Linked DNA regions of Homo sapiens: regions 1, 2, 3, 4, 5 and 6 are each linked to region 7. The links are contacts of gene promoters, found by promoter capture Hi-C in blood cells and fetal thymus (Javierre and others, 2016). All regions are on one chromosome and are shown on one strand. The core of a region is centred on a gene start or on the middle of the fragment in contact, and the rest is flanking DNA. Distances in the headings are between cores, read along the strand shown. Region 1 overlaps LOC100130691 (Putative uncharacterized protein FLJ44553). Region 2 holds the start of AGPS (alkylglycerone phosphate synthase). Region 3 holds the start of IFT70B (intraflagellar transport 70B). Region 4 holds the start of OLA1 (Obg like ATPase 1). Region 5 holds the start of SCRN3 (secernin 3). Region 6 has its middle 2.1 kb from the start of NFE2L2. Region 7 holds the start of LNPK (lunapark, ER junction formation factor).

Region 1 (3,949 bases), core at 1-2,500, 1.3 Mb after region 7:
AGCAAACCAGGTGGCGTGGAGTTTGGCTGTATCAGACGTGCAGGATAATGATGCAAATGACCATGCTTACACAACCCCTCTGCATGACTTAGGAACAATGCCTACATTATCTTTAAGATACAGAAAACACAAGTAACATGTAAGAGACACTGTTAGAGTCAGTTCCCCTGATCACTAATATCGGTGTGTCGTCAGTCATTTTTTGTATTCCCATGTAACTGATTAAATCTATTTGGGAAAAAGTGTCGGCCATCGTATCTTAGATTCTGTTTCTTAAAAAAAAAAAAAAAAAAAGGAAGAGTGAGTTGGGGGAGGGCTGTTGATGGCAGTTTGCTGCCGCTGAGTCTGGCCTGCTGTTTTTCTGGCATTTTTTCATCTGTGCTGCCATCTAGAGAGGAGAATTGGAAACACGCAAAAATAAAGTCCCAAGATGGAGTTCAGGGAAAGTGGATACTGTGTATTTATTTGTAGAAAACTGGAAGAAACATCATGAGATTTGGGACTATAAATTTATGTTTTTCTCTTCTCTCTCTCTGTCCCTCCAAGATCCAAAACAGGACTTGGATATCTGTTTCTCAGTTTTTGTGAGGACATTCCAGGCATTGCTGGGAAGCCATTTCCTGGATTCGAACTGACTCCTTACATACCTAAAATTCAATTGTATAAACTTTCTGGGACCTCTAAATTGTCAGAAAGTGGTCTCACTTTTCTACAGTTGAAACATTGCTGGAAATGCTCACATTCCCAGTTCTGTAGGATTTGGAAATAAAATGGCAGCTTTTTGTGTGTGAATTAACAAGAGAAAGAAGTCCTTTCAACACAGTGGAGCAGTTTCCTGAAGTCTGTGCCTTCCACAGAATCTACCAGATCTGCGGGATGTTTATAGGTGAAACGTTGGTCAAATGAATTTGGGGATTGCAAGGTAAAACAATGTTAAGCAGTTTTTATAGGCTTTAATTTACCAGTGTCCACTGCCAGCTTGCAAGAGAGGAAAATGCTGGGCAAGCTTTCCCAAACTTGTTTGACCTTGAAACCCTGGGCTTTTCATAGACCTGGTGTTGTGTGGCGCTTACATTCGGAGCTATTACAACAGGGAAAGGACATTAGCCTGCTGCATGCACACTACGCAGAAACACCAGTCCTCCCTGACCCCATCCTATTCCTTCTCTCTGTGTCTCAATATTTTTGAAGTTTTGTTTTGGTTTGAGTAGAGACTGGGGAATTTAACTACTTTTTTTCTCTAGCAGGATTGTAACAGGAGTAGGATCTGTTTGATACTTGCTACTCCCAGGTAAAACAAAGTAAGTTTACCTACAACATATGCCAAATTTTCTCTCTCAGCTTACATGTCAAACAGCACATAGTAAGATAGTCTTTTTACTCAGAACACATTTAGTGTGCTCTAATTCTGTGTAAGGTACCACTGGGAGGGGAGAACAGAGAGAAATAAAATATGATCCTTGACTTAGTCAAATCATTAAATAGATGGAGTGATAAGCTTATACACAGATTACTACAAGATCCCTTATACAGATAAATAATGGTCATACTAGATTTAGTCATCATAACTGAAATAATAGGGTTTAGTTTATGTGGAGCAAGGCCATGGAAACTATCCATGGAAAAAGAAACTAATAGCCTTACAGAAACTCTGTTATAGTGGCATCCATTGTTAGAGCATTTCACCTTATTTAAAAAAAAAAAGAAAAAGTCAATGGCAAAGAATATCTGTCTGTATTAATTCTGGAAAGTGACATTCTTGATGAAACTAAGTGAACAATATTAATAATGCTTCTCTTTAGATAATTTTTCTGCATTTTAGGAGATGGACCATATAATTCATAGTTTTGACTCAAAAAGTAATGTCTCTATTTAGGTATTAATAAGGATATGATCCCTTACAAGGGATACATATTATTTCCACTTCATGAAAACAACAGGGGCTCAGAGAATAAGCTTGTTTAATAGCTTGTAAAGGGCAGGCTTGGAATTCAAATCCAGTTCTGTCTGGCCCCAAATTGTTATTTTTGTTTCCCTTTTTGTGGGGCAGAGTAATTTTAGAAAATGTTTGCGTACTTTCTGATTTCTATAGCCTAAAAATATGATGCCAAAGAAAAATGAGGAAAACAGCTTTCCTGAGCTTTAGAGAATTACACATACACAAATAGGAGACTATAAGCTTTGTGAGAGCAGAAACCTCAAGGCCATATCTGTTCTCTTTGCCACACTAAGCACAGAGCTTAGCACATACCTGGCATATAGATCCTCATTAAAGATTTGCTCAATGAGGCACATATGAATGATAGTGTTTGAGATTAGGTGGTAGGCACTCATGAAAACTTTCAATATCTTCTTGTATTTTTTGCAAGATAGTCCACAGTTTTGAATCTGCAAAGGAGAAATAAGATTAAGGTTAATGCAGGCCATTTGAAAGTATGCCTTACCTCCTCATGAAATGGTCTGAATCTGATCAAGGGCAATTTTCACATTTGTGATTGTACTTTCCAGTTAAAACTCAATAATTAATTAATCATATTGTGAGTCAATTTGTGGATGATTGAGAACCTTCCCCTGCATAGTTGTTTGGTCATTCCCCAACAAATTCATTCCCTGAAAATGGCTAAAAAAATTAGGCTTGAAGTAAAACTAGATTTGAAGGCAACGACTAAATCTTCTTTATATCTGTATTCCTAGAACACATTCCTAGAATATATTGTGCTTTATAATAAGAGCACAATATATTTTGAACTAGGAAGGAAGAAAAAAGAAAGGGTAGCAAAAAGGAAGAAAAATGAGAGTTAGGAATCTTGGATTTAAGCCTTGGGTTGACAATGTGAATTTGGGCCAGTCATTTCTTCATTTTGTTTCTCAGTTTCCCTTTTTGGAAGCCAGAGGAGTTGACCTAGTTGACCACTAACACACCTCCAGATTCTAATTGCCTGTGGAAGAGAGACTGGGGTCATTCTTGGTATAAACATGCCCATGCTTCCTTTTTTCCACTAGGGGGCACTGTAGTACTAGCGCAGTGGCCTCCATCTTCCAATTTATTCAATTCTGTTGACAGTATTTTTCCTGTTTTAGTCCCCTGGAAAACATTCTTTACCTTTAACTTTCAAACTCAAATTTACACTACAAAGTATGAGATTTAATTTGGTAAGGAAAGCTGGATAAACATAGGAAGAATGTAGTTCAATGATTTATATTGCTTAAAAGAGAAATTAGAATCACAGAGCTATTTGCATAGTTAGGTTATAACACGTTAAGATTTTCTGTGGTCCAAAAGGGGGGCTTTGAAACTCTTTTAAAGGAAAACAAAGTGGAAAAAATTGTAATTACCAGAATAACAAAAACATAAACTTAATAAGTATGTCAAATCTATGTGAAGACAACTATAAAATTGCCAAGGCTTAAACAGAGATATACCATGTTCTTGGATAAGAACACTCGGCATTTAAAAATTTTTTAATTATTCCCCAAATATATTCATAAATATAATACAATTCCAATGGAAATGCCAATGGAATTTTTTTTGAAACTTTACAAAAGAGTTCTGAAGTTCCTTGAGAAAAGTTAAACTGAAAAGAGTCAAGAAAAAAAGACAACCATTTGAGAGGAAGGAGGATTTTAACTGCTAGATTTTTTAAAAAAGATAAAACAGCTGAAATTAAAACAGTAGCATAATGACAGCAAAATAAACAAACAAACCAATAAAACAGTGAGTCCAGAAACAAACCCAAGTATGGTGTCCTGGATGTGTTTGTGTGTCTGGGGTTTGTGTGCTTTGGTATTTGGCATCTCAACACTTTTCCTGTTATAGGAACTGAAAAAAGGCATATCTTCCTCTTCTAGACAGCAAGGACATCAGCACATAACTGAAGTTTGTCCAGTGGGATTCCCACATTGAATCCAGAAGGAGTGATGCAAAGATGCAGAAACCATCAAGCTATCT
Region 2 (3,697 bases), core at 265-2,764, 1.4 Mb after region 7:
TTAAGAAAAGCTTCTTACTCTCCTTGAGCCTTCATCTATAAAATAAGGATAATAAAACTGTGTCATTGTGTTACTGCAAAGATTGATTAAATAGATACGTATAAGATGCCTAGGTTATGGCCATTTTTTATATTTAACAAATTCCTAATTCTTTCTTGTTTCTACAACTGTACTAAATTATTTTAATAGCTGCAAAAGTATTTTAACATATTGACTAACCATTTCTCTGTTGCTAGACATTTGGACTGTTTTCAATGGTTTGGTATCTCTTCGTATATAAATTTCAGAAGACATTCGGACCTCCTGTAAAGGCCAGGTAATACATATTTTGGGGCTTCTGGGACCACATAAGGTCTCTGTTGCATATTCTTTTAAAAAATTTCTTGTTTTCTTTTAACAACCCTTCTCAAATACAAAAACCATTAGCATGAGGGCTGTGTAAAAACAGGCCACAGACTAGAGCTGGCCCTCCAACAGCAATTTGCTTAGCCCTTAATTGAGAGTTTTTAACCAGTCTGGGCCTCTTTGGAAGTTCACTCTAAAGGCATAATCTCAATTTTAGAAGCTGGCAACACCCAAGAGAGCAATTGTTAGTCTCTAGTCCCATGGATGTGGTGTTCTTCAGATTCCTCTGCCAATATTTTTCTTGTTAGGAAAGCATGATGTGAAAGTGGTGACAGGATGGAGAATGACAATGGCCAGTGTATGTGAGTTTTTGTCTAAGCTAATTCTTATGCAAGACACCGGCTGAAACAGGTGAGGAGCACTTTTCACGTGCTATCTTCCAGAAATGAATTCAATCTGTAAATAACTGAGATGTCTTCACAGCTCTTGGGTAATTTTTGTCTGTAGCAATAAGAAACTTTATCTCTATTAAAGTTAGGAAGGGGTTAGGATCCAGTAATGAATGAAATGAGAACTTAAGTTGCAACTCAGTTTCTGTACTTACTTGTGATCTAGCATTAAACACAGTGCCAGGCACGAAATAGGTGGTGAGAAATAAGAAAATGATAGAGCTATTTGCTCTAATGGTTAGAGGCAATGATGGTCAGCTTTGAGTTACTTTGGTGACCCCGCAGGGAGGAAGAGCACAGGTGGAACATTAGAATCTCTTTCAGGAAAAGGATGCCGCTGGATCCATCAGGTCCAGTAGCACTGCCCATTTCTCCTGCTCCAAGGCATCTGCCCTCGAAAGCCCCCAGGCCACACCCGAGGACACCACCCAGGGTTCTAGGACACCTCGAGGGCGGACGTGGTTTGGCTCTCGGTCCAGCTGGACCGGGCTGGGCCAACCGGGAGTCAGCTCGAACTCACCTGCTTGGCAGGTGCGCGCTTCCCGAGGCGTGACAAGGGAGCGCCGGCGCGGTGGGTGGGGGGCAGAGAATGTGAAGCTCCAGACGCATGGCACCCGCCGCCAAGTCGCCGCGGTGGCTGCCGGGATGCGCCGCAGCGAATGGTCGCGCCGGGCGCCGCTCTGAGTGACCTTTCACCCGCGCCCAGCGGTTCCGGGCGGCAGCACAAGGCGGTAGCCATGGCGGAGGCGGCGGCTGCAGCGGGTGGGACTGGCTTGGGCGCGGGCGCGAGCTACGGGTCTGCAGCGGACCGGGACCGGGACCCGGACCCGGACCGCGCCGGGCGGAGGCTGCGGGTTCTCTCTGGCCATCTGCTGGGCCGGCCCCGGGAGGCTCTGAGTACCAATGAGTGCAAAGCGCGGAGAGCCGCGTCGGCGGCCACGGCAGCGCCCACGGCCACTCCCGCCGCGCAGGAGTCGGGCACCATCCCAAAGAAGCGGTGAGTAGCGGTATGTGGAAGGAGTTAGCGTCGAGGGACCAGGCCGGGCCTGTGCTGCAGGAGGGCACAGGCGAGGTGGGAAGGGAAGTGACACGGGTGGGCGGAAGGCATCCCGGTCCCTGAAAGTAGGGACCCACCTCTCTTTCGAGAGAGTGGACTAGACCCTGGATTCTGTCAGGAAGGGGGCGGGATGGGATGGTGGATTTTGGTCACTATGTGAGGGTAACAGGCTTGAAGAACTCTCGTTGGAGAAGGGTTTAAAGGATTCCTTTTTCCTGAGCTTTTAGTGCCAGGAATTCATTTTTTATCTTGAATTAATACTTTTGGTGCTGAGGTCTTGGAATGGGTAGCAGAGGTTCTATTTTTCTCCGAGGAGATATAAATTTGTACTAGATGATAGATCATAGGAATCTCTCTCATTCGCGAAAGCCTGCTGTGGGGGAAACTGGTGGTGCCCTGGAAAAAGGTGCTGACTGGTTTCTGTGGGGTAAGTTCCACTTGCTTAGGATCAAGATGTATTGACTTTGAGGGAGGAAACCGATGAATGGTAAGAAGCCATAAACTGCAAACACTAGCTAGTGGTTTAAGGTGTGGTGGTATAGCTACTGAGCTCTGTGTAACCAGAAGCTAAAAGACAAGAGTCTAACCGATGAGGGATGTTTGTAAGAGATCTTGACTTTCGATGTTTTTGGAGAAATCTTTTTTTTTTTTTTTGTATTTTTAGTAGAGACAGGGTTTCACCGTGTTAGCCAGGATGGTCTCGATCTCCTCAATCTCTGATGAAGGCTATTAGGAGAAGCTACTTTCTGACGTGTGGCTTTGTCACCGTGGATAAATGGATAAACCGAGAGTGAAAAAAATAAGTAGCTAATGTTTAAAGTGTACTTTTAAGTGTGCCAAAGTGTGCTAAATCCTTTGTTTCTTCCCAAGCTATGAGGTATGTGCGGTTTTCTCCCATTTTACAGATGAATAAATTAAGTCTGCTGGAGTCTTAGCAGATATGCTGTGTGACAGGTTAGAATTTGAAAGCACATCAAATTGACTTCATGGCCAAGTTCCTAAGCTATACTTGCTTCTGATGAATTAATTCAACATACATGAGTCTTTACAAAATACACACTGTACCAGCAATACAGAAATTTAAAAATACGGTATTTACTCTTAAGGAAGGAATAGCTTAGTAGGTAAAATTATAATACAGCGTTATAAGAAACTTAACTGGGAACTATACCACCTGGTCATTTAACCCAGTTTTGGGTTTGTGTTTGTTAGTGCAAAGATGTTCCAAAGTAAAGATTGTCTGAGTAAATTTTGGATGTTTGCATTACTAATAGTTTGCCAAAGGGGGAAATTGTTCTTGGCATACAAACAGTATGTTCACAGGTAAAGAAGTGAGAGACAAATTAGGGAACTGCTGAGACTCAAGTGTAGTAGGAGAGGGTGAGAATGACAGGGGACGAAGACTGGAGAGGTGAATCTTGTTTACAGGATTTTACGTGGGGCAATACATGATTAGATTTACCTTTGATAAAGGTCACACTGGGAGCAAATTGAAGACAGTTGAGCATTTTGGCAGTATAATGGCTGGGAACATAGACCTGGATTTCAATTTCCACTACACCGTTACAGCTCTATGATCTTGGGCAAATCACTTAACCTCTGAGAGTTTCAGTCACCGTCATTTGTAAAAACGGGAACAGTAATCCTGTTTTGCAGTGTTGCTGTGAGAATTGAAAAAAATAGAGTTAAATGATCAAGTGTTTAGTGCAATGCCTGTTACATAACCTTTCAAAGAATGGTAGCTGCAATTTTCACAGTGTCTAAAGGCAGAGAGACTAGGAGACTATTATTCCAGGGAGAAATGCTGGGATTCTGAACTAAGGCATATTATTGGGAGTAGGCAACT
Region 3 (4,008 bases), core at 680-3,179, 1.6 Mb after region 7:
GTTGTTCAATAACAGCAGGTATGTTTCTGCCATGAAGTTCACAGTGTTCTAGAAACTGGACACATTCTTGAATAACACTATCACGAAGCATGATTGTGTGTTTTGACATGTTTTCTAACAAGGACAGGAAGCATCTTTTGGCATAATACCAGGTGTCTGTTCCCAGCTTTTTGTTGTAAGGTTCCAAGCTTTTGATAACTCGAGAAATACCAAAGTCATAATTTCCTTTGGCACAATAAAGAGTTCCTATCACCAAATTCACAATGCAGAGATGGTACATTTTCTTATCTGGGTCATCATAAGAGAGCTGCTCTTCCTCCTTTTCAATCTTCCTCATCAACTCCTCTGCTTCTTCATTTTGACTTGTCATAATATAGGAAACACAGAGATTAGCCAGTACAATAGCACTGACATTCAGGATGTTATCATAATGCTTCTTGACTATGGGTTCATAGAAACCAATGGCTTCTTTGTATTTGTTTTCCTGCATGAACAGAACATGAGCCACATTCAACTTCCACACATCATGGTCGTTACAGAATTCCACAGATTTGCGGAAGATCTTTTCCACCATTGGATAATTTTCAAGATTCCAGTAGATTTTTGCCTGAGCCATCAACACAGGAATGTATTTCTCCATGGTTTCATCATATTCATTCACTGCCTTTTTGATAGCTTCATCATCTCTATTGTGTCTTGCTTCCTGTACTTGTATGGTAAGTTTCCGGAGGACCTCAGTCAGCATCCCTGCTAGCCCATCAAGCTTAATGAAAGCCTCTTCAGGAGCTGTCTGGCAAGTGATCACAGCGTCCAAGAAGTCATAGAGATAGGGTGTGAGGAACTTATAAATCAAATGGGCATTTTCTGCCAGGACATCTGCTGCCAGGTCAAAATACTCATATTTACAGTAGAGCAGCAACAGGTTGCCAAAAGTCTCTGGAGGAAAGGGATTCTGTTGGAGCAAAAACTGTAGCTTTTCAAACCCTTCTGTAGGCCTGGCATCCATGTTCATTAGTGCCTGGTTGTGTAGGGTCACAGGGTCCAACTCTTCCTCTGCCCTGGGTGGCATGTCAGTGAGGGCTTCTTGAGCTGCCTCATAGTTTCTCAGTTGGTATTCTATAGCTGCCTTAAGGTTGAAGGCTTCCACCAGAGCAGTCTGATGGAGGACTAAGGTGTTGCCAACACTGCGAACATCAATGCCCTCAGTGGTCATGCCCACACCTAGCTCAGGGTGCTGGCGGATGCCACGCTCAATAATCTCAGCGATATGCTTCAGTGCTGAAGCATACTGTCGGCTGCTGTAATAGGCCAAAGCCAGGTTGTAGGAAAGGTCAGGCTGGTAGCCCGAGGCCTGCAGGGCGGCAAAAAACTTGGAGCATGCAGCTTCATACTGTCCCTCCTTGTAGAGCAAACAACCCAGGTTGATCTGGCCATCGGTCTCATTCTCGCCCCCACTTTCCTCTCCCCCTTCCCTACTCGGCAGCTGCTCTACCAGGCTCCTGGACCCTGGCAGATCGCCCTCGCTGTACTTGATAGCAGCTTGCAGGCGGAGGACCCGGCTGTGGTAGGCGGGGTTATCCAGGAGAAGGAAGGCGACCCGGGTGGCCTCCGCATAAAGGCAGGCCTTGTACAGGGCCTGGGCCTGGTACAGGCGGTACTGCTCCAGTTCCGGGTGCAGCTGGCCCAGCTGCTCATAGCACTCGGCCGCCAGCGCGAACTCCTGCAGGCGGTAGTAGCAGTAGCCTAGCAGCGACAGGCCGGCGCGGCTCCTAGGGCTCCGCTGCAGTTCTCCGCCCAGCAGCTGCACCGCCTCGGCGTAGCGTGCATTGCGGATGAGGCGGTACACGACCGCGGTGAACTCCCCGTCGGGGATCTGCGCGCCGCTCAGGCCAGCCATAACCACCACGGCTGTTATGGGTGCGGTTACTATGGCAACAGAGCAACCGGAAGCGGAAGACTGCCGGTTTCCTTGTCGCAAGAAATCTGTTAGGAACAAAAAGGGACCACTCTCGTCAGTCTCTCAATTTCAGCTTGATCTTCAAATACTCTGGACTGCGGAGTGGCGGCATTCAGGAGGGGAAAGACTACTCCGGGCCGTTCAGAGACTGAATCTACTCGTCCCGGCATGCACCGTTCCAGTGGTTCCGCGGCGCGGGTCGTAGCCGCGCTGCATGCTGGGAGACGTAGTCCCGGCTGTACCTACCGAACCGGCGGCCCGTGGGGGTGCAGGGTAACTCTCCTTCCCTGCCTCTTAAAGATGAGGGGCGCTCACTGTGTCTGTTATGGCACCGTGGTCTCTGGCGCGGCGGAGGAAGGTTTCCGGCCCCATGTTCCTGGCGATTTTGAGCCTGGTACACGGTGTGGTCGATAATAATGCTGGCTTTTGGTTTAGTTTCAGTAAAAGAACCGGGATGGCAAAAGGCGAGTTATCTCTTGGAATTACCCTGGAATTAGAGCACGTTCTTTTTTGCACTACCCCGAGGGCACAGTTTGTAAGAACGGAATAGAGCGGCGAGCAGGAATCCTTAATTTGGTGGTTTCCAGAGGTTAATGAGGAAAAAGGACTGTGAATCTTGATTGGTACTGGGAGAGTTTCGGTTTTAGGTCCAAGTATCTCCCGCTCTTTTTTCCCGTAACAACAAATATTACTGAGTATATATTGGCGTTTACCCTTGGCCATCCCCATTGCGCTGGAGTTCCAACTTTCACTACTAGGTAGAAACGTTGGAGAAATGCATGACTTCAGTTTTTTCCAAGAGGGGAAAATCCAAGACATTAAAATGTGCTCCTTTCCCTATGCATTTTTACTCTTCTCTCTTAACTACTAAATTAGTCAGCCAGTGATGTGTGGGTGTGTGAGAGACACACATGCTCAGTTTGTACTTTTCAGCCTTCTAGGGATTTTGGATATTGAACTGATAAATATGGATTTTCTTCTGTTAAAATAAGAAAAGATTGCCTACACTTTAATTTTTTTTCCAGATTCTTAGTTTGAAGATTTCTATGCAGGTTTGCTAGACTGTACAAGATATCATTCTGGGTTTTCTTTCATTCTTTGTTATATATTTGGAATAGATGCTGTAGATTCCATGTTATTATCCTGGGGCTATTTTTGTATAATTTTTTTTCAGTTTATTAGTGGCCATGATGGGGCTGTGAAAAACTAGGGGCTTAATTATTCCATAAAATTATATTTAATCACCAATTTAAAAAATACCCCTAGATAAACTGACCTGGAGACCATAGACTTTAAGGGAGAATAAATACAATTTTTCAATCAAGAATTAGGGACATAGACAAGATAGCAAAATATGAATTTGGCTTATCCCAGTGAGGTACTTGTAAATAGTGTAGTTTTCAAGGTAACAATAATAGTTGTAATTCATTAACATCTATCATATGGTGGCCTGGGACAGAGCATTGTCTTTTGTAGTCTTCCATGATGTCCATTGGCCTCACTACCACCCATGATAAACAGTCCAAGTCAGAGCATGTCTTTGCTATATAATTAAATACTTCAATGCAGGTACCTTACTGCCTCTTCAACAGTATTGCTGTTCATAAATCTTTTCTACATATAAATTTTGGAGCCAACACCAACCATATTGCATCACATTCTATTAGACCACCTATATATATTATTTCTAATCATAATAACCACCCTGTATTCTGCATATTACTGATGAAGAACATGTGAATCAGAAAGATTAGGCAACTTGCCTGAGATGACACAGCTAGATAAGAAGCAGCTGAATCATGAAATTCCAAAGCTAAGTTCAGTAGGTAATAGTCACTGATGAATTAACTCTATCTATCATGTATGGGCCCAGTTATAGGGGAATATTAGTGTCTTGCTTTTTTTATATTGTTATTTTCCTGTTAAAGCAACCAGCCACCTTGGGTTGGCCAGTGGAAATTTGAACTTCTTGGCCTAAGTCGTAACTGTGAGCAAGTATTAGAAAGTGATTAGTTGGGAATGGTCACCTGTTATACCTAAAAAGGAACTTC
Region 4 (4,136 bases), core at 850-3,349, 1.8 Mb before region 7:
TCTCCATCAAGCTTATTATGGTGGAGCTTTCAAATCAATTTCCTAAAGTAGCCTACTGCATGGCCTCTGGTAGACAGCCTATGTAGGTACCACACATAGCCAACCAGCACTGAAATCAATAAAATACATCTAAACTAAAGCCTAATTTTGCAATATTAATAGTCCAGCTTCCTGGCCTCTTTTCTTCAACTTAAAGTTTAATTACCTCACGGTTCCCATTTCTACAATAGGACCCAAAATATTTACAAAATGAAAATCACAAAAGCCCCAACGTTCACCTACCCAACATTTGGCAATCCAACAATACCAATTTTCAGTGAGGTTCCAAATCTTCCAATGATTGGGGGTGGTTTAATTCCATCACCTCCCTTTTTAGGGGGCATCTGAAATACCAAAGCAAACATATGAACAAAACTTTTTACTATCCACATGGACCCAAAACACATTTCATCACATACAATATATTATTGAATTAAGATTAAGAACAAAACATACTGTATATAGCGATCCAAAACTAACACAGAGCTAAATCCACTTTTTTTTCAGCAAAAATGTTTAAAAAGTTCTGTAAACATATCCGTTGTCAAAAGAGTCATTGCTGAGAAGTCCCAGAAAGACTGATCTAAAATCAATATTTGTTGGGCCGGGCACGGTGGCTCAGGCCTGTAATCCCAGCACTTTGGGAGGGGGAGGCCGAGGTGGGCAGACTGCTTGAGACCAGGAGTCGAGACCAGCCTGGCCAACACGGAGAAACCCCGTCTCTACTAAAAAGAAAAACAAATACAAAAAAATTAGCCGGCCATCAGGCGCGCAGCCTGTAATTCCAGCTACTCGGGAGGCTGAGGCTCGAGAACTGCTTGAACTCGGGAGGCGAAGGTTGCGGTGCGCCAAGATCACGCCACTGGGCTCTGCCTGAGCGACAAAGCTAGGCTCTGTCTTAAATAAATAAATAAATAAATAAAATATTTGTGGCACCAGGAATCAAAGATAAACTTAGAGTTTAGCTACCAATCTTCCATCCAGACTGCTCACAAAACACTTTATATCTTAACCTGATATATGGTTATATGAAAGAAAGCATTTGGAAGCAAGTACACAGAAGACAGTCAAAGAAAATTCCATTGTGGAACCACCAGCAGCCAAGTCACCCTTCACACCAAACCATTCCTCTATAATCTGGAATCTTATCTTTCCCATTCGCCCACAACCCCCATTTTTCACATAGATGAACACCCACCAGGTACTGGGGTCCTTCCACCAAGTCCCTCCCACCTTTGGCACTGAAGGTACGGCTCATCAGTCCTCATAAGCAACCTCCAAAATCTACATTATGGTTACTATTTCTAATGGTAAATTAATCGACGGAACCTTTTTATTTACAAGTCGAAACTTTCTCTGTCCCTTACTAGTTCTGTCTCCAAATCATGCGTGCAGAATTACTCCCACCCTTGGACTGCAAAGTGAAATCACAAAGACCGCTAAGCTCACGTCTCAGAAGCTGGGAACTAAAACTGTCCCAGTCTTCTGGCTGAGAGTTGTACCTCCTAGGACCACGCTGGGGCCCTGCCCTTGCAGTAGTATTCCAGCCTCTGATCCCTGACCCCGAGGGCCAGGAATTTCCCTTCTCAGCGTCCTGACACCTGTTCCTGGCCAACTCCCAGGCCTCCAAAGAACAGATACAGGAACAGCGCCTGTCGGGTCCTCTGGCCTACAGAGAGGTGGCCGGCAGCCCACCCAAAGTGGGCCCCACCCCCCATCCTCCTCTCCGGACTGGGCCACCGGGCGTCCTGGCGTCGGGAGAAGGCTTTCCCCAGGGCTTTCCCGCGTGAGGCGTAGGCCGATCTCCCGACGCGCGGCCTAGTCCGACAGCGCCTCATTCATCCACACATCCCCAAGCCACCCGCTGCCCTGGCCCCATCTTGGCCACTGGGCCCGGGCCCCGCGCCAGCCTCAGGGCAATGAGCCCAGGCGCCGAAGACCTGGCGGAGATCGCGCCCCCGGGCTCCCTGAGGGCCTCACCGTGCTCGGCCTGGGCGATGACACGGGGTCCCAGCGGCAGCGAGAGAAAGGTCCTGCCGGCAGCTGGAGGCGGGGAGGAAGGAGGAGAGAACGCAGGCCCGTCCCCTCCGCCGAGCGGCACGCACGACGGCGGCGACAGCGGCGGAACGGGCGGGCCGGGCGCCGAGCGGCACCTGCGCGCAGACCATGGGCCCCGCCCCTCCCCGCCTTGCCCGCGCGTCCCGCCCATTGGCCTAACCGGCCGGGGAGGCGGGAGTAGGGCGGGAGGAGCCCAGGGTGGGAGGAGCCGCGCGGCGGCAGGGAGCTGGAGAGGGGAAGGCGCTGGCTAGGCCGTTCCCGGGAGCTCTAGTCTTCCGCTTCGGCACGTGGGCTTCTCGGTTCTAGGTCTCCGCTTCCGTCTGGCTGCGCGGCCTGGGTTACCTGCTCACGTTCACTCGCGGGCCTACAGCCCCAAGCTTTCCCAGCTGGACTGCGGAGTGCCTTGGGCCCTGACTTCCCTCCGGGAGATCCGGGGCGTCTGAAGTCAGGCAAACAGCCACACCAGCCCCGAGGACCGCGTGGCCGCTAGCCCATCTCCCTTTTCTATAACTTTATTCGCTCAGTCTGTGCGGAGAGAAGCTGTTAACTAAAAGTTCTTGAAGGAAAAGGGGCTAAGGGAAACTTTGGTCTAGGGATTTCTTCCTCGCCTTATAGTTAAAGCGTCGCACACAGGTACTGGATCACAGAATGCGTTTAATTGAGCCAATTTCCCCCCTTTTCCTCTTGGTAGTTGAGAGCAGGGGCCTTTGAAATTTGGGAATTTCCAATCTGGATTTCGCCACTCATTGACTGTATGACCCTAGACAAATTAACTTCTCTGGACTTCAATTTCGTTCTGGATAAAATGAGGCTATTAAAACCACCTTATGAGGTTATTCGTGTGAGAATAAAATGAGACAATGCGTGTTGAGCTCATAACAACAGTACTCAGCACATACAGAAAAGGCTTGTGAGTAGTCGCTGTTGTTAATATTAGGATTTCATCCCATCTCACCCACATCATATCAATACCATGAGCGCCACTGGAGAAGGAATTCTTTCATTTAGGTCCTGGCCTTCAGATGTCATTCAGGTATTTGTTGTAATGAATATGATACCTGTCCAAAAATTGTGACACTAGAAGCTCCTTTTAAAGGGATTAGTTGCTATTAATATTAAAGGATGTAAATAGGTCGCCATCCCCATTTTACAAGTGAGGAAACAATATCAGAAAGGTTGATTAATTTGGATGAAGTCACACAACTAGTAAATGGCAGCAGCATATTTCAAACCACAATCTAACTGAAAATCTGGCCGTAATCCCAGCACTTTGGGAGGCCAAGATAGGGGGATCAGTTGAGCCTAGGAGTTGGAGAACAGCCTGGACAACGTGGTGAGACCCCATCTCTACCAAAAAACAAAAATTAGCTGGGTGTAGTGGCACATACCTGTAGTCCCAGCTACTCAGGAGGCTGAGGTGAGAGGATGGCTTGAGCCTGAGAGCTCAAGGTTGCAGTGAGCTATGATCACTGCCGCAGCACTCTAGCCTGGGTGTAGAGCAAGACCTTATCTCTAACAAAATAAATACAAATAAAAAGTAAAACTAAAACTATCTGAAAAATCTGTTTCCTTTCAGCGAGAATTCATTTTTATTTTTTGAGATGGAGTCTCACTCTGTCGCCCAGGCTGGAGTGCAGTGGCGTGATCTGGGCTCACGGCAACCTCCGCCTCCCGAGTTCAAGCAATTCTCCTGCCTTAGCCTCCTAAGTAGCTGGAATTACAGGTGCACACCACCACACCCAGCTAATTTTTGTATTTTTAGTAGAGACGGGGTTTCACCATGTTGGTCAGGCTGGTCTCGAATTCCCGACCTTGTGATCCACCCACCTCGGCCTCCCAAAGTGCTGTGATTACAGGCGTGAGCCACCGCACCCAGACGAGAATTCATTCAAATAGAGACTCCCTATAAGCTCTGAGCCAGTATTCATAATAAAATTGCATTAAGGCTTTTCCTTAGCCCTGTAACAGTGCTCTAGTGAGGTGAGTTAAAGAGCTTTCTCTACAATTTTGGAAATTCTCAAGGACACAGGCAACTTGAT
Region 5 (4,140 bases), core at 1,439-3,938, 1.6 Mb before region 7:
AAGATCCAGTGAAGTTGATGGGAAAAGAACAGTCTAATAAGAGAGCTGGAAAACTAGAAGAGAGTAGTTATTACAGCTAAGGGAACAGAGAGTTTCACAAAAAAGGGAGTTTACAGTGATGCAATTGTCAATAGCCAGTTTATGAACTGTTTGCCAGTCCACAAGAAGACTAAAGAGCTTGGACCACAATGTAAATTAACTGCTTCCTTCATTAACAAAATCAAGAAAAAAAAAGAACAGCTGAACAAAACAGTGTATCCTGTGACATAAATGATTGAGGCAGCGCATAACAATACACAACAGAGTGACCAGCAGATATACAGCATTCACTCTTATTTTTGGTGAACAAATGAGACCTTAAAACCTACTGGACTTTTTATAAGCTTGGGAAACTGAAAACAAACAAGGAAAAAAAGAACCTACTGGACTTTAATAAACCCAACATGCCTAATTTTACAATTAGAATTTTCTTTCTTTCTTTTTAAATATAGATGGGGTCTCACTTTGTTGCCTATGCTGGTCTTGAATTCCTGGCCTCTCAAAGTGCTGGAATTATAGGTATGAGCCACCATACCTGGCCCTTAAAATTTTCATGGTGGAACTCTTTTGCACTCTTTGATCAAACTCCTTTGTTTCTTCCACTTCTATTAAAAAAAAAAAAAAACTTTACTGGAGTATGACATATAAAAAGCTGTACATATTTAATGTATACAACCTGAGTTTGGTGACAAGTATATCCCTGTGAAACCATCATCACAATCTACACTATAAACATATCCATCACCTCCAAAAGTTTCCTCCTACCCTAATAAATTTTTCTATTTATCTTCATTTAATATAGTTCCTTTATCCTTAGTTAATAAAGAATGCTAGAGGTCACCCCCTCTCCCCATAAAGTGTTAACTATCTAGAAAGGTCTGCTAATCAAAAACATTTCATTCTTCTCCTCTATCCTGGGAAAAGTATAAAACAGATCAAAGAGGCCAACAATATTTGGTACATTTTACATAACACTTTACACAGATGAGAAGAATGTAGGTTCTAAGCCTATAACTGCTTTACTGAATTTCTCATAGCGGACTTGCAAAAGTTATTCTCTGTGGATTTCTTTTTTCTTGTAAGAAAGCTGATACATTGAAATTTATAAAGCGAAATGTCAAAAGTTCCAGTAAAAAATTATGATTTCTCAGGTATATTTGTCTCTAAATATAAACAGCAAATAAGCAAGCACCTGAATTCCATCTAATCTCTTCATTCTTGTAAAAATAGTAACAGCTGACCCCCTAAGTATGCAGAGAAAGGAAATGTCTGTGTTTGGTGTCAAAAGTTATTGAGCCAACCAAATACAAGAAACCTCTCCCTCCCACAGTTGCAACCACACAAACACAAACTGGTGCAGTGGAAAAAAAATCACTGGGTTAATCAGGTGTTCCAGATCCTAGTTCTGGTACAACATTTAACTAGCTGTGTAACTCTTGGCAAATTTGTTTCCTCATTTATAAAATGAGGAGATGGGGCTGGATGATTACCAAAGAGCTTTCAAGGTGTATCTGTGTTATTAAAATTTCATGGGGGAGTTATTAAGAAAAAATGTTTAATAAGACTCCTTAGGAAGGTAACAGTGAAAAAAAAGTTGAGAATCACTGGTCTAGAAGTGAGAGTATATAGCAGTATCTCATCACCTCAACTCGTTCTAAAAACAAATAAAAGCTTAGTTATTTTCACAAGTTTCTATGTAGGGGCAATCAACATTTTATTGAGCACCTCCTCTCTGTAGTGGACACAGTGATAGATGCCTACGTTGTTTCAAATCCTTTATCTTCACTATTTCACTTAATCCTCACAATTAAGTCAATCATCCTTAATTTACAGATTAGAAGACTGAGGGTCAGATATTACAAATATTTTGTGCAAGGTCTTAAGGCTAAAAGTGACTGCTCGAATAACTAGAATCCAGGTTTGACTCCAAAGCTGATTCTTTCTACTTCACTCTTTTGCTTTTCATTACTATGATATTCACCAAAGTATTACAACTGGTAGACCTGTAATTATGTAAAACACTAAACTTCAACGAGTTTAGTCATCAAAAAGACACTAGATTATTAGGTAATTTTTTTAAAGATCTATCTTAAGTAAACGGGGAGGCTTCTTTGTACAGAAAAGTAGAGTTCAGAAGCCGTGATCCCTGGGATCCGAAAAGACAAAAAACCAGAATCAGCTGAAGGAAGTACTGAGGAATTTTGACATTAGTCTTCGCATATTATGGATTTGCATTCTGGCCGACAAAGATTCTCTAGGCCACCGGTCTCCTCGCTGTTGCAGAATAAACGCTGAGGACCCGCTGCGTCAGCGAGCTGCTCAGCAGAGAAAGGCGAGACCACCAGGGCTTTAGGCCTAGAGAAGCGGAGGCTGTCCTAGGGATCTCAGAGACACCATCACTTTCACTTCCAGCAGCCTCTGGGAAGGCGGTCCCTGTGGGCCTAATCCCTCCCCGGGTCTGTTTACTCACTTTTTTGATATTGGATTTGGAGGCAGGATGAAAGTCTTTCTTGCACATGAAGTTGGCGAAGGATTTCCCCATCTTGGAACTGGAACTAGGGAAAGCAGGGGCTAGATCTGTTAGCAACGTAAACAAACTCAGCCGCCTAACCGGAACTGCGTTTCCAGCAGCAAGGGGGAACTTCCGAGATCAAAGGTGACAGCTTCCGGCAACTGATGCCTCCACTGGCCACTCCTCCCTCCGTCCACCTGTCACTTCGGGTAGCTGGGAGGCCAGGTGAGGGGCGCGCACGGGGGAGGGGCGTGCATAGTTGAGACAGAAACCCGGAAGACCCAACTGTGGCGCGGCACTGCTTGACCGAGGGGCTCCGGAGCCCAGCTGCACCGGCTGCGGTTTGAGCGCCCAGGGCCGGGGTGCGGGGTGGACCGCGGCGGCCCTTCGACCAAAGGTGCTTGAAGCTCGAGCCCATTACTTTCTGTGGACTCTGACTCGAGCTGCAAAAGCTTTTCTGCACTGTTTTTCTCATCTATGTTATGAAGATAATAATTCCGGCCCTAACCGTAGTATGCTTGCGAGAATCCAACAATATGATGTTTCTGAAAGCGCCGGCTGAACTAAGAGCGCGTGAAATAGAATGACAGACAGCTCTGCAAGAACGGAGGCCCTGTCTATTTTGTACCCAGCTGTACGGTACTGGCGCCGAAAGACGTTCAATAAATACTTATTGAATGACGAATACGCGTTAGGAGTTGGTAAAATCTCTCAAGGCTTCACCTCCTCAGTGGGCTAGGTGCAATTCTAACCAGGGGGCAAGTTTCCTTAGCTTTCCCTACGACCCCAGTTAGGCAGCTCAGGTTACTATTGCAGCTTGATGGCCCTTGGGACTCCAGGTTTTTGAGTGGACGTGGCTGCTACTGCAGCAGGTGATCCACCAACCAAGTTCTCTATCAGGGTAATGTTAAGAATAAACCTTGGCCGGGCGCGGTAGCTCACGCCTGTAATCCCAGCACTTTGGGAGGCCAAGGTGGGTGGATCACCTGAGGTCAGGAGTTCAAGACCAGCCTGGCCAACATGGTGAAACCCCGTCTCTACTAAAAACACGAAAAATTAGCCGGGTGTGGTGGCACGCGCCTGTAATCCCAGCTACTCGGGAGGTTGAGGCAGGAGAATCACTTGAACGCGGGAGGCGGAGGTTGCAGTGAGCCAAGACTGCTCCATTGCACTCCAGCCCGGGCAACAAGAGTTAAACTCCATCAAAAAAAAAAAACAAAAAACGAATAAGCCTTTATGAGAAATTTTCTCTCCTACCAAATAATAACAATAACAGCTTTCATGTGAGTATCTACTATGTTCTATGCACTGTGCAAAACACTTTACGTGTTGCCTTATTAAGTTCTCATAACAGCCCATCAAATAGTGTCTTATTTTTCTGATGAGGCAGAAGGCATAGGTAAGAGAGAGATTAAATAGTCTGCCAAAGTTATATAGTGATAGAACTAACTATAAAACACAAATAGAAGGAGATCCAGGACATAAGAGTTGAAATACAGAAAGAAAATAACAGAAGCCATCAAGACATCAGACTTCTCGTCACTGAGGAGAAGAGGAAAACCCTTAAGAGTTTCAGTCTGAAGTTTTTA
Region 6 (3,752 bases), core at 757-3,256, 1.3 Mb after region 7:
TTAGCTCCCCGGTGCCGGCGTTCAGTTTGCCCTCCCCCGCAAATAAGGGCAGCGCTCTCGCCCGCGAGATAAAGAGTTGTTTGCGAAGGTCGCTGGAGTTCGGACGCTTTGAAACAGTTTAAACAGTTGGAACAAACACACCCGGAGCCCCGGAAAGGCGTTGGTGTAGGAGCTGCGCCTCCCTGATTTGGAGTTGCAGAACCTTGCCCTGCTTTTATCTCACTTTACCGCCCGAGAATGGCGCCAGCCGGGGTGGGGGGGGCTAAAGATTTGGACCCAGACCGTGCCACTGCCAACTGCCCTCCCGCCCTTGCTCCCTTCCCGGGCTGGGGCCAGTGGGCCCTGCCTAGGGGAGATGTGGACAGCTCCGGCAGCTCGTGTTCGCAGTCACCCTGAACGCCCTCCTCTGAACTCCCACGTGTCTCCATTCTCCTAAGCTCAGGTCGTCAAAGGCAAACGGAGAAGCCCCTTTAGGTCGGAGAGTGGTCAGTATTGCCCACCCAGAGCTGGGAGAAAAACGGGAACCCCAAGAGAACCTCTTCCCACCAAAGCGCAGCCACCACGCCACAGATGGCGCCCTTCAACAGTGTGTAATACCACAACATGCTGTAATCGTTTACTCTTTACAAATTTCTTTTTCACGTACTCACAAAATAGTACAAATTAAAAAAAGTTACAAAAACGTTTGTATAGTATTGGCTCATTTTATAAAAACGTGCCTAGAAAAAAATTGAAGGTTACCAATATATTAAATGCTGTGGAATCAACGATTTTTATGTTTCTCCTTGTTACTTCCAAGTATGCTTTAAATCTGCAGTGCGTATGTTTTATGTCTTACATTAAAAACAATTATTTAAAAATTAATCATTGCCCAGAGAAGACTTCAAGTATTTGAAACGAGGAATATTGTGAACTCTTATAAGGGTTCAAAGAGGATAGATAAATGGTTTAGTTTTGTTTTTTTCTTCCTCTTCTGCATTTACAATCTTTCTAACTCTATACAAGACTGGTTTTCAGTTTCTAGCTTCCTGGAATTATTCAAAACCAGGTGAAGTAGATAATACTGGCAGTGGTTTTGCTATTTCATTCAAAAACCACACACACACCCCTGACTATAGCAATCAACGCCCAAAAAGCTGCAGAGCTTACTTTCTCTAGGTTGCATAATTTGACACTCCCAGGATTTATGTGTAAATTTGTATATTCAGATATTCCTTGAGATAAGTGAAGCCTAAATTAATTACTTGTAATTGAAGCAAGCTTCTTTAACTCCTATTAATTCCTTTCAGCTGTTATGTGAAAACCCTGCAACATGATCTGCACAATGAAAACAAGTTAGGAGAAAACTGTTTGCAAAGGACCTCACATGAAAGATGCAGAGACATAATAATAAAATAACATTTCTGAGTCCAAGAAAAAGACAAGAGTAAATTGTTAACAATTCAAGTTACTTATTAAAATTACGACATCAGAGAAGGTAGACAATGAGCCTAGTAGGTAGGAGATACCAGAGTCATATGACATGGTTACTGCTCTAAAGGAGTTTATAAAGTATTTGGTATTTCCTTGTTAAGCCACAAAATTTCCATTGAGTTTAGACTGAATGAAATAACCTTCACTTTTCCAATGCTGCAATTTGCTGAGAGTGTGTTATTTCAGGCATCTGCAGAGTACATATTTTCAAAGGGAGGGGAGCAATATGATAAGAGTTTGAACTTGTTTAAGAAAAACAAACACTAAGGAAAAGCTGTTTGGCATTTGGTTTAGCCAAATAAAGGGAACCCCATTCTCAAGACCACCCACGTCAAGGAGGTGCCCAATCTTGGCAGACTCTGGAATGTGATTGTCTTCATATGAGAGCCTGAGCCCTTGCTTTGCCCTCCAAACCTGCCTATTGTGTTAGGAGGGCACAGATAATGCATGTTGAGAAGCTCTGGAGGAGCAAGAAAGAACAAGAAAGAGGAGGTGCTGGTTTTTCTCTCCTGTCTTGCTGCCATGGGATCCTTTTTTGCTGCCAGGCTCTCCTCGCTACTATTTGGGAAAAATACCCTCCAATTGGTTTTATGTTCTATTGACTCTTGTACCTTTTCATTGATTCCTGAATCATTTGCTGTCTTTGGGAAGACGGCCTTCCCTACATGCTTGAGATGTGTCAATTGTGATACCTTGCTCCAGATTGCTCATAAAAAATAAGCATCATTGGCCAGGTGCTCTGGCTAACGCCTATAATCCCAGCACTTTGGGAGGCCGAGGCTGGCGGATCACGAGGTCAAGAGATCAAAACCATCCTGGCCAACGTGGTGAAACCCTGTCTCTACTAAAAAATACAAAAATTAGCTGGTTGTGGTGGCATGCGCCTGTAGTCCCAGCTACTCAGGGAGGCTGAGGCAGGAGAATTGCTTGAACCCAGGAGGCGGAGGTTGCAGTGAGCCGAGATCACGCCACTGCACTCCAGCCTGGCGACAGAGTGAGACTCTGTCTAAAAAAAAAGTATCATCAAGTAAGTCTTCTGGGTATAAGAAGTCTGGATAATGGTGATGCATTGACCCCTTAGTTCCACCTCCTTTGTGCTCCAATCTGCCAAGTTGCAAGGTGCAAGAAAGTACCGATTGTTTCAAAATCCTCCATCACTTTGAGGCTTCTTCCTCTCTCTGTCACTTCCTCTCAATTGTTCTCCATGTTTGAGCCAGAAAATATTCATAATCTTTTAGAATTGTAGTTGAAATTCTACTTTGTCCAGTGTAAAGTATAGAAAGCTTCCAAAGATGGCACCCAGTAAACCACCTCTCCTGATATTGAGGCATTTGTCTAGTCCCCTCATATTGAAACAAGCATGGCTGGCCCTGCAACTTGCTTTAAGGTATGGAAAGAGGCCAGAAGTGACATTATGCCAGGTTTTAACCTAAGCTTGAAAAAGCCCTGACAGCTTTTAATTTTATACTCTTGGAAGTCAGCCATCATCCTAAGAGGTCTGACTACCTTGATGGAAAGAGAGGCCATGGGAAAAGTCATGGAAGATGAAACTCTAAATGGAGAGAGAGAGACTATGTGAACCAACACACCAGACATGTGAATGAAGAAACCATCTTGGACCTTCGAGCCCACCTATTCAAGCCCCCAAAGAACTCCAGCTCCAGCTGCTATATGACTGCAGTCACATACAAGAGACTGTAAGCAAGACCGGCAGAAGACTCCCTGGCTAAGCTAAGTCAACACCAAGAACTGTGAGAAATTATAATAAATCACTTTCAGCTATTAAATTTGGGGGTGGTTTGTTTCATAGCAATTGATAACCAAAACAGCATACTGTATGTATGGTGACTATCAAAGGCAGGGTTTCCCCTGGCTGCTCTTTGTTTGTTAACCAACATTGGGAGCACAAACAGGGAGATGATACTTGGTGATTTAATAAAACTCAGACTCTCAGAAGAAAATGACTTCCCTGGGAATGAGGAAGCTGTCTTTCCCATAACATATCTTTGTTGCTACATACAAAGTAAAAAACCTCATCACACCATGCATAAGTTTCATTTTATTAGACGATGGAGAGATAGTCTCCTTATCAAAATACACTTCACGAACACAGACATTTTATCAATGAAGTAGATGGAGGGATAAATGCATACAGAGGTTCTGACCGTGATATGACCTCATTTGTGCCAGTTATGTAAGATACTCGCTGAATATCTGCTTAGGGAGTTTGAACTTGAGCAACCTGCCCAGTGGATAAACTAAACTCCAGTATAGGCCAG
Region 7 (3,633 bases), core at 886-3,385:
CACTCAGGTTTGGGTGTCAGAATTTTAAATCTTGGGAAATGTTTTTCTTAAATTTTCACCTCACTCCAAGACACATTAAAATAATGCAATAAAATAGATCTGGATTCAAAATATGGCTCAACCACATACTAGCTATGCAATCTTGAGCAGATTACTTAAACTCTGCACGCCTCAGTTATTGCATTTGCAAAATGGTAAAAATATCTACACTTCATAGAATTGTTGTATAAATTAAATGAAATTATGTATCATTTGGCACAGTGTCCGACACATAGTAGTAACTGCTTAATTGTAGCCATTATTATTACCAGAAAACACATGTATTTATATGAAACACATTTCTAACTTCTTATAAAGAAAGCACCTATTTCATAATTCTAAAATTGGAAAATTATATTAGTTTGTATTTTTACAAAAATAGATTGCTCTCATTTTCTCTAGTATAAGAAATAGAGCAAAAAATTCTGTAGACTCTGCCATTAAATAACCTTGTAGGTCTTTGAAGGAAACAGCAAAGGAAGTTCTATGTTTATCAAATTCCAAAGTTAAGTATAAGCTATTTAATCACCATCAACAGTACCTCCATAACATATTATACTATACAATTGAAGAGTAAAGGTGATTTATTCTAGAATTCTAACTTTCAAATGTCCTAACTGAAAAGACAATTCTGAAATAGCCCAAGCCACATTTATTGCTCCTCAAAAAGAATTTTAATGAAAAGTACACCTCTATTATATATTAAGCACTCTTAATATATAATGATTAGTGCTTGCTTTCATGGTAAGTCAATTTTCATCTGAACTAAATACCACCAAAAAATTACTATTTGATTATAAATGTTTCTATGTGAAGTCATATATTTTTAATAGCCATATAACTTCTCCTTTTCTTGTATTTTCTTGTTTATATAACATATAAACACTATATAAGTTTACTAACATCATTACTGAGCTGATCTCAATAGATAACAGACAACCTTAAAATTCTAATTTAAACGCACCACTCCTGTTTAAGAAAATGTGTTAAAAGTCAACTTGGTCTTCTGGGGGCTGCTGAGGAAAAGAAATGAGCATTCCCTGCCAGTTTGAACATATTCCTGAAACCAAGCTTACTCACACCCACCAAACCGCTGTTGAATAGAGTCAATTTTGTCAATGCTGACACCCAGGCCATAAAGAAAGGAGGAAACAGTAGACACCGAGCAACACACACCGGAGGCCAACTGGGAAAAGCAGAACACGGAAAACTCAGTGATTCACGGGTCTTGCTTAGTACTGTGAAAGCACCATCAGCAAAGCTGAGTTGACCAATTTCAACTCTTTCTCAATCCGTAAACTATGAACTGACGGAATTTAGATTTGTTTTTCTCCTCCTACCACGCCTCTGATACAATGCACCTTCGCCCTTCCCCTCCACCCCACAGCCCACCATCCCTGAAATAAGGACAATGGTTGGAGAGTCTCTTCTCTAAGTAGCACGTACTCCACGCCCACACGCTAGAGCCCGGCAGCATGACACTGACAGTTTTCAGTCCCTTCTGGTCTTTCTAACTCTTGGAGCCTCCGCACAACTCAGAAAGAGAAGCGGAGAGAACGCTCAAAGCGGACAGCTGAGCGTAGGAAATGCTAGTTTGGGACCTTCTGACCTCTTTGCCCCACCTGTGTCGAGATAAGCTCGACACAAGTGGGCCAAAGAGCTGGGGCTCAAGCCAGTCACCACCCGGAATCTCCTAGAACCGAGCTGGAGAAACTACCAGCCCTAGAGGGGAAACAAGGGTTTCAAGACTCCAGCGCCACCACTGCCAGTGTGCTGGGAAATCCAGGGAACAAGGCGGCGAGCCTGGGTCTGCGCGGACCACCGCGCAGCCTGACTAGCAGCCGCCGCAGAGCTCTAGGCCACTTGGCAGGAGGCGGGGGCACCAAGGAGAGGCAAGCGGGGAACCCGCAGCTTATTTCCCAGGGGCACAGCTCAGCATGCCTCCCCGCTGCAGAGCCCTCCCAACTGCCCTCGCCTTGAGCGTTCTACCTGCAAGAAGCGGGCGCAGCCCGGCCCGGGCGTCCACCCCCGCCAGTCTCGGCCGCCACCGCCCAGCCTGCCTCCAGAGCAGGCAGCAGCCGCCACTGACAGAGAGACAAGCCGGGCCAACTCCTTCCCATGAAACCCCGCGCTCCAGCCGCTCGCCAATTGGCGCCGCGGTCGGCGCGCGCCGCTCCCCCGTCACGTGACCGTACCCTGGGCGGGTAGTTGTTGGGGCGGGTCGGCCGGGAGGTTAGGATCTTGTGTTTGTGGCCTCCGCAGCCAGCTTAGGCTGCTCGGTGTCGTGTCGCAGTTATGTACTGCCATTTATTATGACTCTTAGAATATAGTTATTTCTTACTCTTCCGCTGCCTCCTTTGCTTTTAAAGCCTGTTCTGCCAAGTCTCGCTGGAGAAGGAAACCCCTGAAACTGGTCCTGGTGGTCTCAGACCGCCGCGCGAGCGAAGAGTGGGGAGGACAAAGGTTGGGGAGTTGAGAAGGATGGAGATGGGTGCATCTGGAAGGGAGTCCGTCCTGAGGAGTCCCCCATCAGCTGTCAGCCAGCCAGCAGCAAAGCAAATTAAGACTACACAGCTCCGAAGAAGCCAGTTCCCAACCAAGCCAGTGGAGAAAAGTCAGCCCGGTCCCCAGGAGTGCTTGAGGCTCTGTCACTCTTGGACGTCAAAAAGGGTCATTTGATGACTGGACGCTTACCTCACCGGTGTGAGGTAAGCTTCAAACGCCGTATCATGTTGCTTTAAAACCTGCGGGTAACAGCATAAGCTGAGTTTTCTATCTTAGAACTCTTAACCCCAAGAACACTCTTCACAGGCCCTGATAGGTGGACCCACAAAAAAACCACTCAGGCTATATTTGACTCGGATTTGAAACGCTGCCGAAACGGTATTAAGTGTCCTCCTCAACTGGAAAAGACAAATAACAAATGATGCCTGAATGAGAAAAAGACTAGACGTGCACACAGTAATGTGTGAGCAGGGAAACTTCAGCGAAGGTTTTTATCATGCTTTACCCCTTTTACATGCTTTACCCCATGTGCAAACATTTTTCATGGGTTTTTTTCTATTTTTTATTTATTTTTATTCTATTTTTTTATTTATACACAAAAAAGTTTCAATGATTTTTTAAAGAGTAATAGTTTTAATATGTTACATTTAAACTTTGACGATGCAAACAGGTTGTCAAGAGAAGCAACTGAGCATTGTTTGGTTGGTAAGAAAATTTATTATACTAGAAGCTACCGCATAATTCACTGTGCAATTTGCTTGCCCTAATTGCCTAAATATTTAGTTACAGTTCTGTACACTTGCAAGGATGAGGGGAAGGGAACTGAAGTTTAGCGTGTCACTGTGGATCAGGCACTTTCCAAATGTAGAAGAAAATGAACAGAAACATTTCACCTGTTTTGATGTGGAAATTTAACCGTTTTGTTTTTCAACCTTTGCTGTTGCAAAGTATTAAAGTCCTGTGCAGTTTTGCAAATATATCTCACCGCAGAAAGATCTCCTTTCCTAAGAAGACTGGGAAGAACGGCTTTCCACTTGCCAGTAATGTGTCCTCTGGTTTCAATTGAGCCATCAGTGTCTGTACTCCAGC

The links. Contacts are between HindIII fragments. The CHiCAGO score rates a contact against its expected background, and 5 or more counts as called.
Region 1: a contact is called between a fragment that was not itself captured here and the fragment with the promoter of LNPK in region 7, in 1 of 17 cell types (total CD8 T cells). The highest score is 5.0, in total CD8 T cells.
Region 2: the fragment with the promoter of AGPS here is called in contact with the fragment with the promoter of LNPK in region 7 in 9 of 17 cell types (M2 macrophages, naive CD8 T cells, total CD8 T cells and 6 more); the score reaches 11.9 in M2 macrophages.
Region 3: the fragment with the promoter of IFT70B here is called in contact with the fragment with the promoter of LNPK in region 7 in 7 of 17 cell types (total CD8 T cells, total CD4 T cells, activated CD4 T cells and 4 more); the score reaches 9.2 in total CD8 T cells.
Region 4: a contact is called between the fragment with the promoter of OLA1 here and the fragment with the promoter of LNPK in region 7, in 2 of 17 cell types (non-activated CD4 T cells and total CD8 T cells). The highest score is 5.8, in non-activated CD4 T cells.
Region 5: a contact is called between the fragment with the promoter of SCRN3 here and the fragment with the promoter of LNPK in region 7, in 8 of 17 cell types (naive CD4 T cells, total B cells, naive CD8 T cells and 5 more). The highest score is 8.7, in naive CD4 T cells.
Region 6: a contact is called between a fragment that was not itself captured here and the fragment with the promoter of LNPK in region 7, in 2 of 17 cell types (fetal thymus and naive CD8 T cells). The highest score is 6.1, in fetal thymus.

Annotation. Positions count from the first base shown.
Region 1 is chr2:177,332,142-177,336,090 of GRCh38, forward strand. It overlaps LOC100130691 (Putative uncharacterized protein FLJ44553), which reads right to left. Exons shown (of 9, transcript NR_026966.1): 3 at 2,252-2,388; 4 at 1-110. Among named protein-coding and RNA genes, the nearest start is that of MIR6512, 20 kb to the left of the region's middle. The HindIII fragment of the contact is 492 bases long and covers 1,005-1,496 here.
Region 2 is chr2:177,391,259-177,394,955 of GRCh38, forward strand. AGPS (alkylglycerone phosphate synthase) reads left to right here and starts at 1,515. Exons shown (of 20, transcript NM_003659.4): 1 at 1,515-1,791. The coding sequence starts at 1,532. LOC100130691 (Putative uncharacterized protein FLJ44553) reads right to left here and starts at 1,433. Exons shown (of 9, transcript NR_026966.1): 1 at 1,315-1,433. RefSeq lists silencers at 1,515-1,734, 2,943-3,237. The HindIII fragment of the contact is 4,249 bases long and covers 9-3,697 here.
Region 3 is chr2:177,550,867-177,554,874 of GRCh38, forward strand. It overlaps IFT70B (intraflagellar transport 70B), which reads right to left and starts at 1,930. Exons shown (of 1, transcript NM_152517.3): 1 at 1-1,930. The coding sequence starts at 1,897. RefSeq lists enhancers at 930-1,734, 1,735-2,538, 1,907-2,196. The HindIII fragment of the contact is 6,507 bases long and covers 762-4,008 here.
Region 4 is chr2:174,246,433-174,250,568 of GRCh38, forward strand. OLA1 (Obg like ATPase 1) reads right to left here and starts at 2,100. Exons shown (of 11, transcript NM_013341.5): 1 at 2,020-2,100; 2 at 283-383. The coding sequence starts at 383. RefSeq lists a silencer at 1,886-2,405. The HindIII fragment of the contact is 2,463 bases long and covers 10-2,472 here.
Region 5 is chr2:174,393,042-174,397,181 of GRCh38, forward strand. It overlaps SCRN3 (secernin 3), which reads left to right and starts at 2,689. Exons shown (of 8, transcript NM_024583.5): 1 at 2,689-2,776. It overlaps CIRSR (corepressor of RBPJ and splicing regulator), which reads right to left and starts at 2,671. Exons shown (of 10, transcript NM_004882.4): 1 at 2,510-2,671. The coding sequence starts at 2,581. RefSeq lists enhancers at 2,570-2,619, 3,117-3,617. The HindIII fragment of the contact is 1,293 bases long and covers 1,709-3,001 here.
Region 6 is chr2:177,264,943-177,268,694 of GRCh38, forward strand. No RefSeq gene overlaps it. Among named protein-coding and RNA genes, the nearest start is that of NFE2L2, 2.1 kb to the left of the region's middle. The HindIII fragment of the contact is 1,496 bases long and covers 1,259-2,754 here.
Region 7 is chr2:176,000,132-176,003,764 of GRCh38, forward strand. It overlaps LNPK (lunapark, ER junction formation factor), which reads right to left and starts at 2,136. Exons shown (of 13, transcript NM_030650.3): 1 at 2,029-2,136. RefSeq lists an enhancer at 2,330-2,549. The HindIII fragment of the contact is 1,642 bases long and covers 1,109-2,750 here.